Regions from separate parts of the Homo sapiens genome. Here region 2 is linked to region 1. The links are contacts of gene promoters, found by promoter capture Hi-C in blood cells and fetal thymus (Javierre and others, 2016). All regions are on one chromosome and are shown on one strand. Each heading gives the region's core, a stretch centred on a gene start or on the middle of the fragment in contact. The rest is flanking DNA. Distances are from core to core; before and after follow the strand shown. Region 1 holds the start of ATP7B (ATPase copper transporting beta). Region 2 overlaps FNDC3A (fibronectin type III domain containing 3A).

What was found. The method cuts DNA at HindIII sites, captures the fragments that hold promoters and counts their contacts. A CHiCAGO score of 5 or more calls a contact.
Region 2: a contact is called between a fragment that was not itself captured here and the fragment with the promoter of ATP7B in region 1, in 1 of 17 cell types (fetal thymus). The highest score is 6.5, in fetal thymus.

What each region holds. Positions count from the first base shown.
Region 1 is chr13:52,007,842-52,014,108 of GRCh38, reverse strand. It overlaps ATP7B (ATPase copper transporting beta), which reads left to right and starts at 2,659. Exons shown (of 21, transcript NM_000053.4): 1 at 2,659-2,822. The coding sequence starts at 2,772. It overlaps ALG11 (ALG11 alpha-1,2-mannosyltransferase), which reads right to left and starts at 1,711. Exons shown (of 4, transcript NM_001004127.3): 1 at 1,647-1,711. The coding sequence starts at 1,690. RefSeq lists enhancers at 1,453-1,542, 1,593-1,722 and silencers at 1,843-1,942, 1,953-2,062, 2,113-2,452. The HindIII fragment of the contact is 3,430 bases long and covers 1,182-4,611 here.
Region 2 is chr13:48,978,210-48,984,849 of GRCh38, reverse strand. All of the region lies in intron 1 of FNDC3A (fibronectin type III domain containing 3A), which reads right to left. Among named protein-coding and RNA genes, the nearest start is that of FNDC3A, 5.6 kb to the right of the region's middle. The HindIII fragment of the contact is 1,392 bases long and covers 3,782-5,173 here.

The sequences.
Region 1 (6,267 bases), core at 1,410-3,909:
TATATTGATCTTATGTTTAAAATATATTTAACTTTTCAGCTAGTTACAGATATTCTTCTCTGATGCTAGACCACATTTGACAAGTTATGCAGTTTCTTAATGTCAGTTGCAATACAGACTCTGAAACCCTATCAATGACCTTTTCACACTGTTAATTAAAATCCACTATCACTTAGTTTTATCCGCTATCACTTTTGCACTTATCAACATAGTAAAATAGGCAAATATTACATTAATGTTATTATAAAAACAGATTTGTTGAGGATCCATTGAAGGGCCTTGGGACCTGCATGGTCCATGGAGCACAATTTGAGAACCACTGCCTTAAAGGATGAACAGAGTCTGACAAAAGTGGTAAGATTTATCATTTATTTAACATTTGGAATATATGAATTCATAAAAGCAACACTACAGAGGACAGTTTGCTTTCTCAGGACACTCTTTCAAAAGCTTATTTAAAATGCAGCTGACCCATATAATGTAAAGGTTTTTCTGGCAATTCCTTCAAATAATTTAGGTGGGAAAATTCATGTGACAAGCTTTTCAAACTGAACTATTAAACATTTAACTTAAAAGCTGCATAATAACTAAAGTTAAACCTGTCCTTTAAGTCTGGTTAGTGAGTTTATTTAAACATTATAATGTAAAGCACTGAGGAATATTACGTATGACAGGGAAGAACCAAAAGGCTCTGATAACAGACTTTCTCATTCAAAATGTTTAAAGTAATGATTACAGAATTTGAAGTAGAGTGGACAAAAACGAAGAAGAAATGCCTGAACTTTTGAAAGAATTAGGTATATACTGCTATTCAGGAAGCTATGGTGTTAATTATAAATTTTCAGCCTGAACAAAAATATGTAGGTGGTAAAAAAACTAGGTAGGTAGAATATACTAGGCCTTCTGTTTTATTAGTGGAGGGCAAGGCATTTAAAATACAGTAGTACTACAACAACAAAGGTGGAAAAAAGCCTGGGAGTTTTTTCACCAAAATGTTAACAGTGGCTATCTCCGGATGGTAGCATTCCTGGGGTTTTTTCCTTTTACTTATCTATTTTCTAATTTTTCTAGAAGAAACAGCATATACACGTAATACAAATAAAATAATATTTTATGTAACTTCTTACATCATAAAAATTAAAGTAACAGATTATCAAAAAGCAGAGGATTCAACATAAGCTTTATATTTAAGTGACGTGTTAACAATGGCAGTTTTGGTGAGTTTAAGAGTAGAAACTAAGATGAGAAGGAAGATCCGGTTTCTTCTTTACCGAAAAGAGACATGATAGATTGGAAAATGTCTCGTGGCTCAATCGTAAAGAAAAATAAGGAATGAATATGAATAATTTATGACAGACTAACTGGAGTGTGAAAGGGAAAAAAAAAGCTGAAGCAGGGAAGGGAACTCGACCCCTCGGCCAACAGTGAAGCAGAAGAAAACGCGGTAAATTGAGTCTTTAAGACCTAGTCTATTCCAGTCTATATAGAAGACCCCCAAGAAAAAGAAAGACTGCTCATTGGCCTGAGAAATTACCTTAGATTCATGACAAGGAAGGCCATTTGCCCGCAAAATTTAGCTACACTGGACGGGCAAGTACCCCTACAGAAGAGAAAACGTCTGTGAGCCCACACGACCGGCTGCTCACCTCAACAACTTGCACAGGCACCAGCTCCTTTCGCCGGCCGCCATCTTCCGCCGACCCCCGAACTCAGGAAACGCTTCACTTTCCTTTTCCCTATTGGCTCCTGAGAAAGCAAGCCGTGCTCGCCCCGCCCCCACGGGCCAATTGTGCGTTACTATTGGTTACTGGTAGCCGCTTCCCACGGCCTTCCAGCCAATAGAATATGCCGAGGCGTAGACTAGTGTTCGGCGTGGCGCACACGGCTCCCGCCCCCGTGGGCGGGACAGCAGTGGGGGGTTGGGCTGAGGAGGGCGTGGCCTGTGATTGACAGCCGTCGCTCCCTCCCTCGGCCACCTCCCCCACTAGAAGCCCCCGCCTGGGCGCCTGCGCCCCCGTTCCCGGCCCAAAGCCCGCCGCCCGTTGGAGGCCATTGGCTGGCCTTTGCGCACAGCGGATCGATTTTCCAGGTGCGGAGTTCACTCTTGCCGCGGTTGCTTCCTTTGGGACCCACGGCGTCCGGCAGCCAGGCGCAGAGTCCGAGGAGGGGGCAGCGCAGAGCGGACCCGACGCGGCGCCGCCGGGCACCTTCCCCGCAGGCGGTGGGTGAGCCCTGGGAGCTGAGTCTGCGGCCCGGCTCTGCGCAGCTCACCTGCCCTCCCGCTCCCGCACACGCGTGAGATCCCAGTACAGTGTCGGAGCGCACCAGCGCGAGGTGGCCGAGACCGCGGAGGAGGACAGGCCTCCGCCCTGCGGCGCCGGCACGGCAGAGGACATTGTGGCACTGGCACGGCAGAGAACACTGTGGCACCGGCGGGGCCGGCAGTTCCAGGGTGGGCACTCCCAGCCACCTGGGGAGTGGGCGAGGGTCCGAGGCCCACTCTCCCCTCACGCTCTCATCCCCGTGCCCCCAGGTCGGGAGGACGGCGGCGCGCAACTTTGAATCATCCGTGTGAAGAGGGCTGCGGCTTCCCCGGTCCCAAATGAAGGGGCGGTTCCCGGACCCCTGTTTGCTTTAGAGCCGAGCCGCGCCGATGCCCTCACACTCTGCGCCTCCTCTCCCGGGACTTTAACACCCCGCTCTCCTCCACCGACCAGGTGACCTTTTGCTCTGAGCCAGATCAGAGAAGAATTCGGTGTCCGTGCGGGACGATGCCTGAGCAGGAGAGACAGATCACAGCCAGAGAAGGGGCCAGTCGGAAAGTGAGTTTTGTTCCCCCGCGTCCGCGCAGCGTGCTCACTCCCACCAGGAGGATTTTCCTCCCCGCGTTCGGCGCTTACTCGCCCCCAGGGGGTGCGCAGGGAAGGCCGAGCCAGACCCCAGCTCCAGGGATGTCTTGGCGTGGGAGAAAAGGACCCTTTAGAAAAAGTGTGCCGTCAACTGATGTTTGGGAGCAATGGAAAACCCCGCACCTCAAAATTCATCTTTATGCTTTTAAGGGGTCTGATGCTGGAGAGATAAAGTGAGCGTCGAGTTGCTGTGCTAGAGCCCTAATGGCTCAAAACGATGAAGTTAGTTACCTGGAGAAGTTACTCAGAGCCTGGTGCTTGGACCAGATATGGTATATCGAGGTCCTGGAACTTTTATAACTGTTTTAAATTCATTTTAATTGTACAAGTAATACATTAAGACAGTCTTTTAAAAATGGAAACAGCACAGAAATATTTTGCACAAAAAGCAGATCTATTTTTCAGTCTTTTTCTATTCACGTACATATGTCTTCATTCGGCAAATATTTATTGAGAACTTTCTATGTTTCAGGCACACAGTGTTGAGTTGATACAGTGGTTAACAAGACATGTATCTATATGTAATATGCACACATTCAGAGAAATCTTTAGGTTTCATTTGTATGAGGTGTTAAAATTTTTGTTTTACCTAAATGAGATCACTGTATGTGCATTCTCTTTTTTCAGTTTAACGATATATCTTAGAGATTGTTTCACTAACTGTCTAATTCAGTGCAACCTCTGCACAGTTTGGACGCATCATAGTTTATTCATGGTTTCCTAGTGGTGGACGTTCTGTTTGCTACTTTTTTTCTCTCTCTCTTGCAAGTGAACATCTTTGTACATGATTTTTAATGCTGACACTATTTCTTTAGGATAGATACTTAGGCCTGGATTGCTGGACAGAACAGTAGGCTGTTTCTTTTCCACAGATTTCTGAAACTAATTCACTGACGTTGCTGGGTGCCCTTTAGTAGTGAATTCATCTAGGCTCCGGTGATACAGAAATGAAAACTAACGGATTAGTGGACAGACAGAGAGAGGCTGGTTAGTAGGTGGTTTGTAGGGTATGATGACTATGCATTTGATAGGAGTATGAAGAAATGTTGGGAGGGGTGGCTTGTACAGAGGAGATTTCAACTTCCTACAGTGTCCCCACCTAGAGAAAGAAATCATTATCCTTCCAAATCAAGCTCAAGACCTGCCACCTCCTTGAAACGTTCTGTAACTGCTCCTGCCCATGTTGACCTGTCTTCTGGAATCCTCTGATAATAGCGTTGACCAGCGTTATTGAGCTTACTGTGTGCTGGGCATTGTGTTAGGCACTCATATCCCTCTATGTGCACTCTCGCGTTTAATCCTCACAAAAACCCTTTGATGTAGGTATTATATCTTGTTATCAACATTTATTCAACAAATTTTTTTGTGTGTACTATGTGCTCAAACACATAGTACTCAAAGTTTTAGACACTGGGGATTTAGGTAGGACCGAGACCTTGCCCTCATGAATTTACATCCTAGTTGGAGATAGGAAAAAAAAAGGGATAAACAAATGTATAGCGTAGGAGTTAAGGGAAAACTTTTGTGCCCCGTGAAGCGTCACTGAAAAATCAACTGACAAATGGCAGATTAATAGGAGAGAAGGCATACACATTTACTAACGTGCCGTGAGAGTCTTACAACATAAGATCTCAAAGGAAGGCAAGGTGGTTGCCACAATTATACTATCCTGAGGTTACAGAAAGTGTGGGGGCTCTAAGCTTGGCCAAAAACAGGTTATGGTTGTAAATCAGGTTATAGGAGGGAGAGAAGAGGAGACCTGGCTAGCAAAGGTGGTCTTATGTAGATGAAACCTCACAGGTAGCAGCCCTCAGGGAGAAGAAATGTTTCAGACCTTGAAGGTGCCAAATTCAGCTAATCTCACCCAGATCCAGACAAGGAAGGGCCCTCTGAGAAAAACTGGCTGCGTCAATGGAGGTTCTCAACAGATGCTCATCTCCCTCACAGTAGGACTACTTTTGTCTGTAGGCCCTCTGAACGGCCATCTCAAAATATTTCCAATAAGTCTGTTTTGAGGTGAAATGTTTTAGTTTCCTTCAATAGCTTTATTTCAGGTACTAGTAAGTACTATGAAGAAAATAAAGCAGTTTGGGTCCAGGAGTTCAAGACCAGCCTGGCAGCATATCAAGACATCGTTTATACAAAAAAAAAAGAAAAATTAGCTGGGCATAATGGTGTGTGCCTGTCGAACCAGCTACTCGGGAGGCTGAGGCAGGAGGATGGCTTGAGCCCAGGAGTTTGAGGCTACAGTGAGTTGTGATCCCACCACTGCACTTCAGCCTGAGTGATAAAGCAAGATCCTGTCTCAAAAAAAAAGAAAAGAAAAGAAAGCAGAATAAGGGAATAAGATAGGGATTGACATGGGTGGAGAGGAAGATGCTGTTTTAAGTAGGTGGTCAGGGAATGATTTCTCTTGGAAGGTAGGATTTGAGTAGAGACCTGAATGATTCAGATTTCAGAGAAGTAGCCTAGGTTGAGAAACCATAAAGTGTGAGAGTCCTACGGCAGTCATGTGATAAGAAGAAATATATACTTGGTCTTGTCCCAAGTTCCTGACATAGAGCTTCTTAAACCGTTGTAATTTCCTGAGAGATGGTGATAAGAGCATCTTTTGTTATTCATAACAAGTCTCTTTCACCCCTACCTGAGTTTCTGTTAATGAGAGGGCTCTTGATAGGCCCCTAGATAGCTTCAGGATGGAGACTGATTGCCAGAAGAACCAACCATGTGATTAGGGGATTCGAATGTTCAGCCCCGTGCTCCAACCTCTGGAGATTGTGCCAATCACCAGTGGACAATGATCTAATCAGTGATGCCGGCAGAATAGAGCTTTCTTTAAATTTTTATTTATTTAGTTTTTTGAGAGGTAGTCTCACTCTGTTGCTAGGCTGGAGTGCAGTGGCGGGATCTCGGTTCACTGCAACCTGTGCCTCCCGGGCTCAAGTGATTCTCCGGCCTCAGCCTCCTGAGTAGCTGGGATTACAGGCGCACGCCACCACACCCAGCTAATTTTTGTATTTTTAGTGGAGACGGGGTTTCACCATGTTGGTCAGGGTCATCTCTATCTCTTGATCTCGTGATCCGCCCACCTCGGCCTCCCAAAGTGTTGGAATTACAGGCGTGAGGCCACTGTGCCTGGCCTTTTTTTTTTTAACCAATGCAGTGGATCACAAATAGAGCTTTCTTAAAAACCCTAAATGATGGGTTTTGGAGAGCTTCCTGTTAGTGAACACATCAAGGTGCTGGGAAGGTGGTTCCTGGAAAGGATATGGAAGCTCCTGGAAACCTCCATTCCCATATTTTGCCCTATCTTTTCCATGTGGTGGTTTCTTAGCTGTATTTTGTATAATAAACTGGT
Region 2 (6,640 bases), core at 3,228-5,727, 3.0 Mb after region 1:
AGCTGGGCGTGGTGGTGGGCACCTGTAATCCCAGCTACTTGGGAGGCTGAGGCAGGAGAATCGCTTGAACCTGGGAGGCGGAGGTTGCAGTGAGCCGAGATCACGCCACTGCACTCCAGCCTGGTGACAGAGCGAGACTCCATCTCAAAAATAAATAAATAAATAAAAATAAAAAACCATTTAGTCCACCTGGAACTTAGTTTTGAGAGTGTCACGAAGTGGGTACCTAACTATCTTTACTTCAATTAAACAGTTGATTGTCCCACACCCTTTATAGACCAGTTCTTCCATTACTCATTCATTTATCATACAATTCTTCTTTATCCATGTTTATCTATGGATCTTCTCCTGAATTTATTATTCTATTCCTTTGATCAATATGCCTATTCCTACTCCAAATTCTTATTTTAATAATTGTAATTTTATAATGTTTCGACCTTTGATGGGTCCCATTTATTATACTTCTTTTTGAAATTTACTTGGCCATTCTTGTGCATGCTCCCTTCTCAAAACTTGAACCATCAGTTTGTCAAATTCCATTTTAAAACTCCTGTTGAATTTCTGATTAGAACTGCATTGACTTTATAGAATAATTTAGTAAAAGCTGTCATTTTTATGGCATTAAGTTGACACATTCATGAATACTCCTCCATCCATTCACATCTTTTTGCAGTTTTCTTCACATAGCTATTACACATTTTAAAATCTTAAGTATTTTATAGTTTAGGCTGCTACTTCTTATTACTGTATTTCATAGTTGGTTATTGTTGATATATAAGAAGGCTAATGAATTTTCTAACTTTATCTTATAGCCAATCAGCTTACTGAAATTTTTTAATACAAATCTTTTTCTGTTATCTCATATTTTTTTGCTATTTGTATTTGTATTATATTTATTTGTATTTGTAAGCAGTCATATCAACTCTAAATAATAGTGATACATTTCCCCCCTTTATTTACAGGTTAATTATTTTTCTTGTTCTTAATGTATTGCCTAAGACTTTTGAACCAATGTTGTGTTCCTATCTATTAATGAAAGTGCTTCTATTATTACTCTATGACATTTGGTGATAATAGTATCTACCGCAGAGAGATGTTTTAAGGCTTAAGTAAACTGATACATATAAAGTTTTTTGCAATAGCACCCAGAATACAGAAAGTGTTTAATGCCTATTAATCATATTATTTACTAAGTGCCTTTTATTTGTCAAGCACAAATAAAAGTATATGCATGCACCATTGCAGAGGTTGGCAAACTAAAGCCTGTGGGCCAAATCTGGTCTGCTGCCTAGTTTCGTAAATGAAGTTTAATAGGAACACAGTCATGCCCATTGTTTATAATTTATCTATGGCTGTTTTTGTGCTCCTGTAGCACAGTTTAAGTAGTTGCAACTGAGCCCATATGGTCCACAATGCCTAAAATATTTACTACCTTCTCTTATATTAAAAAAGTTGCTGACTCCAGTAGTACTGGTCAAACTCAAGGAGTTCATAGTTGAATAGCTGATTTAGACAAGTAAAAAATATATATACATTACAGTATGATATATACAACCCAGATATTCTGTGGGTATTATGGAAACATTTTGCATTTAAATATTAAAAGACAGGAAGGACTCACACAAGTGAAAAGACACAAGATATTTTAATTATTTAAAAATATGTATTTATTTACATATCATTATCTCTCATCCCATTCTGTAAATTTCTAAAGGGGAGGGAGTGTGACATTCATTTTTGTGACATTCAACATTCATATTCTAAGTATCTAGGACATTTTAAATGTTCAACAAATGATAGGCAAATGAATAAATGAATGATATGCAGGATGCCTGAGTGACAATGATTAGGTATGTCTGTCAAAGTTCTAGATATAAATATCCTATGGCAAGCATTTTACTTGTCATGTTAAATAGGATCTTTTAATTCTTGTACAGTCTATATTAGGAGATAGCTACTATTATTACTACACTGTAAAATGAACGAACCAAGGCTCATACAGGTAAAGTAGCACACTCATGTTTCTATACAGCCAGTATGAGAAGTCAACTAACAATCCTGTGGCTGCCTAATGAGAAATATGTTCTCTACACTATATCACAAAGTTGTAAAGAGGTAAGAAATGATGACACAATAGGATATCAACAGAGTATGGACTCTCAAAGACAAAGGAAATTATAATTAATGCAGCAGGAATTGTATTGTGATTTCGATTTCTAAAACTGGGGAATGATCTGAATAAATTCATGTTTTTTAAATATCCTGGAAGCAGCCTAAAAGATGGTTAGAGGGGCAGTAGCCCCTACATTTTACCCAAAGGCTACTCTGTCACACACACTAGGCCAGTTTTAGTAAGGTTCAAGTGATTAAAACAAAAATGCGAACATACTATTTCAGGAATACCAATCTGAAGCATCAGGAAAAGCTGATCCTAATAGTTACTAAAGAAACAAAAAGGTACTTCATAAACTATGAAGGTACTATGCTAAAAATTTTTTTTAGGTATATATTACAAATGAAAATATTACATGGAAAAAAATCAAGTCATAAGAACAAAGACATAATTGAGAATGTCTGTCTTAAGAAAACAAAAAAAATTTAGAAAATTTAAACATAAAATCGCAAATTATGAATTTTCACTTTTTATTTAAGCAAATCTTAAGAAAAACTGATTTTAAAGTAAATGAAATGACTAATCCTTCAAGTTATGGCTCAACAAAAGTAGTTGCTGTATATGGCATATACTTCTATAAAGCAAAGCACGTAATTACTTTCTAATAAAAGTCTAAACTGTGATTTAAAGTGTACTTAAATATCTGTTTAGAACCCCTAGAGAAGTAAGATTTTTTTGCCTCCCAAATTATGTGTCTGTCGGTTTAGAATATACATAAACCAATTAAAGTAATCCCTCACTGAAGAAGTAGTGAAGCGAAATCATTTAAGTTTTTAAAAGTTCAAATATATATTAAAATATGGATTCTGAGGAAAGAAAACAGATACAACACTTTTTTTTCCCCCAGCATTTCTGATAGAGGCTGATTAACATACACAATCTAATTTACCAAACTTAGGTAACTTTTACACCAAGGCTTACTTCAAAGTATACATTGCACTTTGTATTTCTAGCAACTAGCACATAAGAGATCTCAAGAAGTGAAGGAGAAAGAGATATGGAAGTCAATCAGAAGTATAGTTCATCTGTAAAATGAGAATACCACCACATATCTGGCAGGTTTGTATAGGATTTTAAAAATAAGCAAGTATAGGTTCTAAAATTCAATGAGCTCAACTGAATGTTTACTGGAAACATACTATGTTTACAGAACTTTGGAGGATAAAGCTTGAACTCTGGTCTTAAAAAAAAAAAAAGGCTGCATTGCTTCCAATATAGTAGCATTAATGTAAGCACTTTTATGGTATGTATTTTAATGCTTTTATAGTTTCCAACATCTCTGTGGGTTCTCACAATATCTTTGAGGAAAACAGGATAGATATTATTCTCTATTTTAATGCTTAGAAAACCAAGATTGCAAGAAACTAACCCAAAATCATATAGGTAATAAGTGGTGAAGTTAGAACTAAGAACTAGACTTTTGAGTCACCATCCAAGGTACTTTAATTTACCTCTTGTTTAGCAAATGGAAACAGCTGGCATGGTGAAGCTGTTTCAAGCATTCACAAAAAAAGAGGGAGGGCATGAATTTCTCCTTAAACTAAAATTTAAAAAGTAAAAATTGTATTAAGTAGCAATTTATGAAGGCTGTTATTTAAATCAAAAGCTTTATATTGCCTTAAAATTACGGTACTGTATGTACTAAGTATGAAAAATGCTAATAATAAATTAAAGTACAAAAGTTAAGTTTCATGATTTTGTTTGGTTGGTTTTAATGTTTTTAACAGGAAGAAAGAAGCATCACTGATTCTGTCCAGGTTGCTTCCCATCTTATACATCTGTACTTTTTCCAGCACCTAATACTAACCCTGATATATGGAATGTACTGATGCCTGCTTAATGAAAAAATGCTCTCATGATGTATTCTTGCTCTCTTGATGCCACAAAAAATACAGTTGCCCCAGCCAATTGATTTGTGCAGCCACAGCGTGAGGCATCACTATTCACCTGGTAATGGCACATGAACCACAGTATACTGAAGGAAACAGAACTGCCTTAGAAATAGATATCTATAAATTTAGAAACTTCAGAGATGTTTCATGTAAATTACTTTTCAAAACAGCTGATACTTATATCCTTTAAATCACCATAACTTATCTTAAAAAAATCTTAATTATTTGTAAAGAGATCTCTAGGTCTTTCTTCCGTGCCTTAATGTGCACATGATATAATCTTTTCTTGATGACTCAAGCTCATCAATGTAAATATCAATTATTAGACTGTTCCATAACAGAGTGATTCTTTCTGGAGTACTGCAGAATGTCCAACTGCTTGTCCCTTTATTAACTCATCCTAGACTACTTCTAAAAACAAAGATCCCTACTGCCTGCTCCTCTGTTGTCACTTACAGACCACCAGCATCCTAGACAAGGTTTTTAACCTGCCAGCTGTTTTTAAAAATGTAAAACCAGCACAGGCAGTTGATACACCTAACCTTATACAAATTCTAAATCAAGCCACTGTGTAGCTATTTTCACTGTAGTAAGGCCTGACTCAAAGGCTTTTCGTCTTTCACTTCCTAATTCTGAGACCTATTCTAGGCTCTTGTTAGAAGTCTGGCCACAAAATAACAATTACAGAAGCACTTATTTCTACATACTTTTTTTTTAGGATAACATAAGGAAAAATATATACATGATAGTCATAAAACGCCCAAACCACCATATAGACAAGATGATGCAAGAAATTTCACAGTATGTGCTATATGGACAATTACTTTGCCAATTATTACCTAGCAGTCAGCAAACTAGGTCCCCTGGCCAAATCCAGTCCACAGATGGCTTGTTTTTGTTTGGCTCTTGAGACAACAATGTAAAAATTTTTACGTTTTTAAAAGATTATAAAAAACTAACAAACAAACAAGAACATTCAACCGAGACTGTAAATGGCCTGCAAAACCTAAAATATTTAATTATCTAGCACTCTACACAAAAAGTTGGCCGACCCCTGACCTAAGCCATACAAACAAACACATATAAGCTATCCATTATACATAAAGCTTAAGCTATTAATATGTCAAAGCTGAGGTATAGTTCTTTCAGTGATAGGTTCCTAATGATACAAACTGTCTTGTCCAGCTCTGCCTATTTTCCTCTTCTGATGCCCTGGTGCTTAAGCTAACATCTCGACCTAACTTTCTTTCTTTCTTCGTCCCAATTTCTGTCCTTGGATGCTCTTGGACTACTTATTCTACTACTACTTCCAACTCTGCCTGTGAATCTCTTTTGGAATGCCTTTCCTTTTGTTATCTAAATCATTTCTAAGTTTCCTCTGACTCCCTCCAAATGCCTTCCAGGATTGTTCTAGCTCTCACTGGCTTCACTTCCCTTTAAATTCCAGTTGGTGTCACACAACTTAATAATACCATATTATAATTTTTGCTAATGATACTATTAGTCTAGTACCCCCAACTAATTTGTAAACTACTTGAAGGAAGGAAGACATCACACTATGTTTGTATCCCCACTTTAATAACATTGCATCACCCTGCAAGCACATGACATCTCCCAGGTGTAGTTCTCAATCTTGGAGGAAAAAATAGCCCAAGGACTGGTAATGGGTGATAAGTGATTGGAAACATTGAAAGATGACACCCACAAAGGAACTTGATGGAAGACCACAGGTTACACAGAAAACTTGAAAGTATATATTAAAGACAAGCAAAACCACAACAGTGGGAAGACAGAAAGGTAAGAATAAAGATATAAAAAGAGACCACTGAATAATTATCTGAAATAAGACCAAAATATTAAGAAAATTATAAAAGCTCACAATACATGTAAAAGTACAAAATTTGCCTTTCAACATTAATGGCCACTAATTTCGTTTTAACAAGTAGTTTTTGACATTCACACATATGGGAGCCATATTTCTTGTTTTGCAATGTGATAAACTGAAGCAGTAAAAGGCTCAATGGAATAAATATGCACCATATTCTAAACCTTCGGAATTACAATATTGTGAGTTTATTTGAAGTCCGCTAGGCAATGCTAAAAACAAAACAAAAAAAACAAAAGCAAACAAAAAAAAACCAGAAACACTAATCACTTAGTTATCTGGCTAATAAAATTGGAAATCATGTGCATATCCCTACACCATTCTCAAAGACACGATCTAGATTCATTTTCATTCAAAAATGCACCAACAATGTTTCAAAAAAAAAACGTTTTTGGTTACTTCATCAAATTGTATTTTAAAAATACTGGCAGATTATAAAATACACAAGCCTTGGATGTCATGAACATCTTAAAAAATGCAAATGTTTTAAAACAGCGCAAATATTACTAAAAATTGATAAAGTATAAATTAAATGCTCTTTGCCTAAAACTACAAAAGACAATGAGAATATGAATCATGCATTCCCTCTTTTTTTCGGGGGGTTAAGGATGTCTCAGCCCTTAGCTATGTCTGGCTGGTCAGGGAAGAGGGAGAAATTTTTAAATTAGTAATAAAATATGCTTACTATTA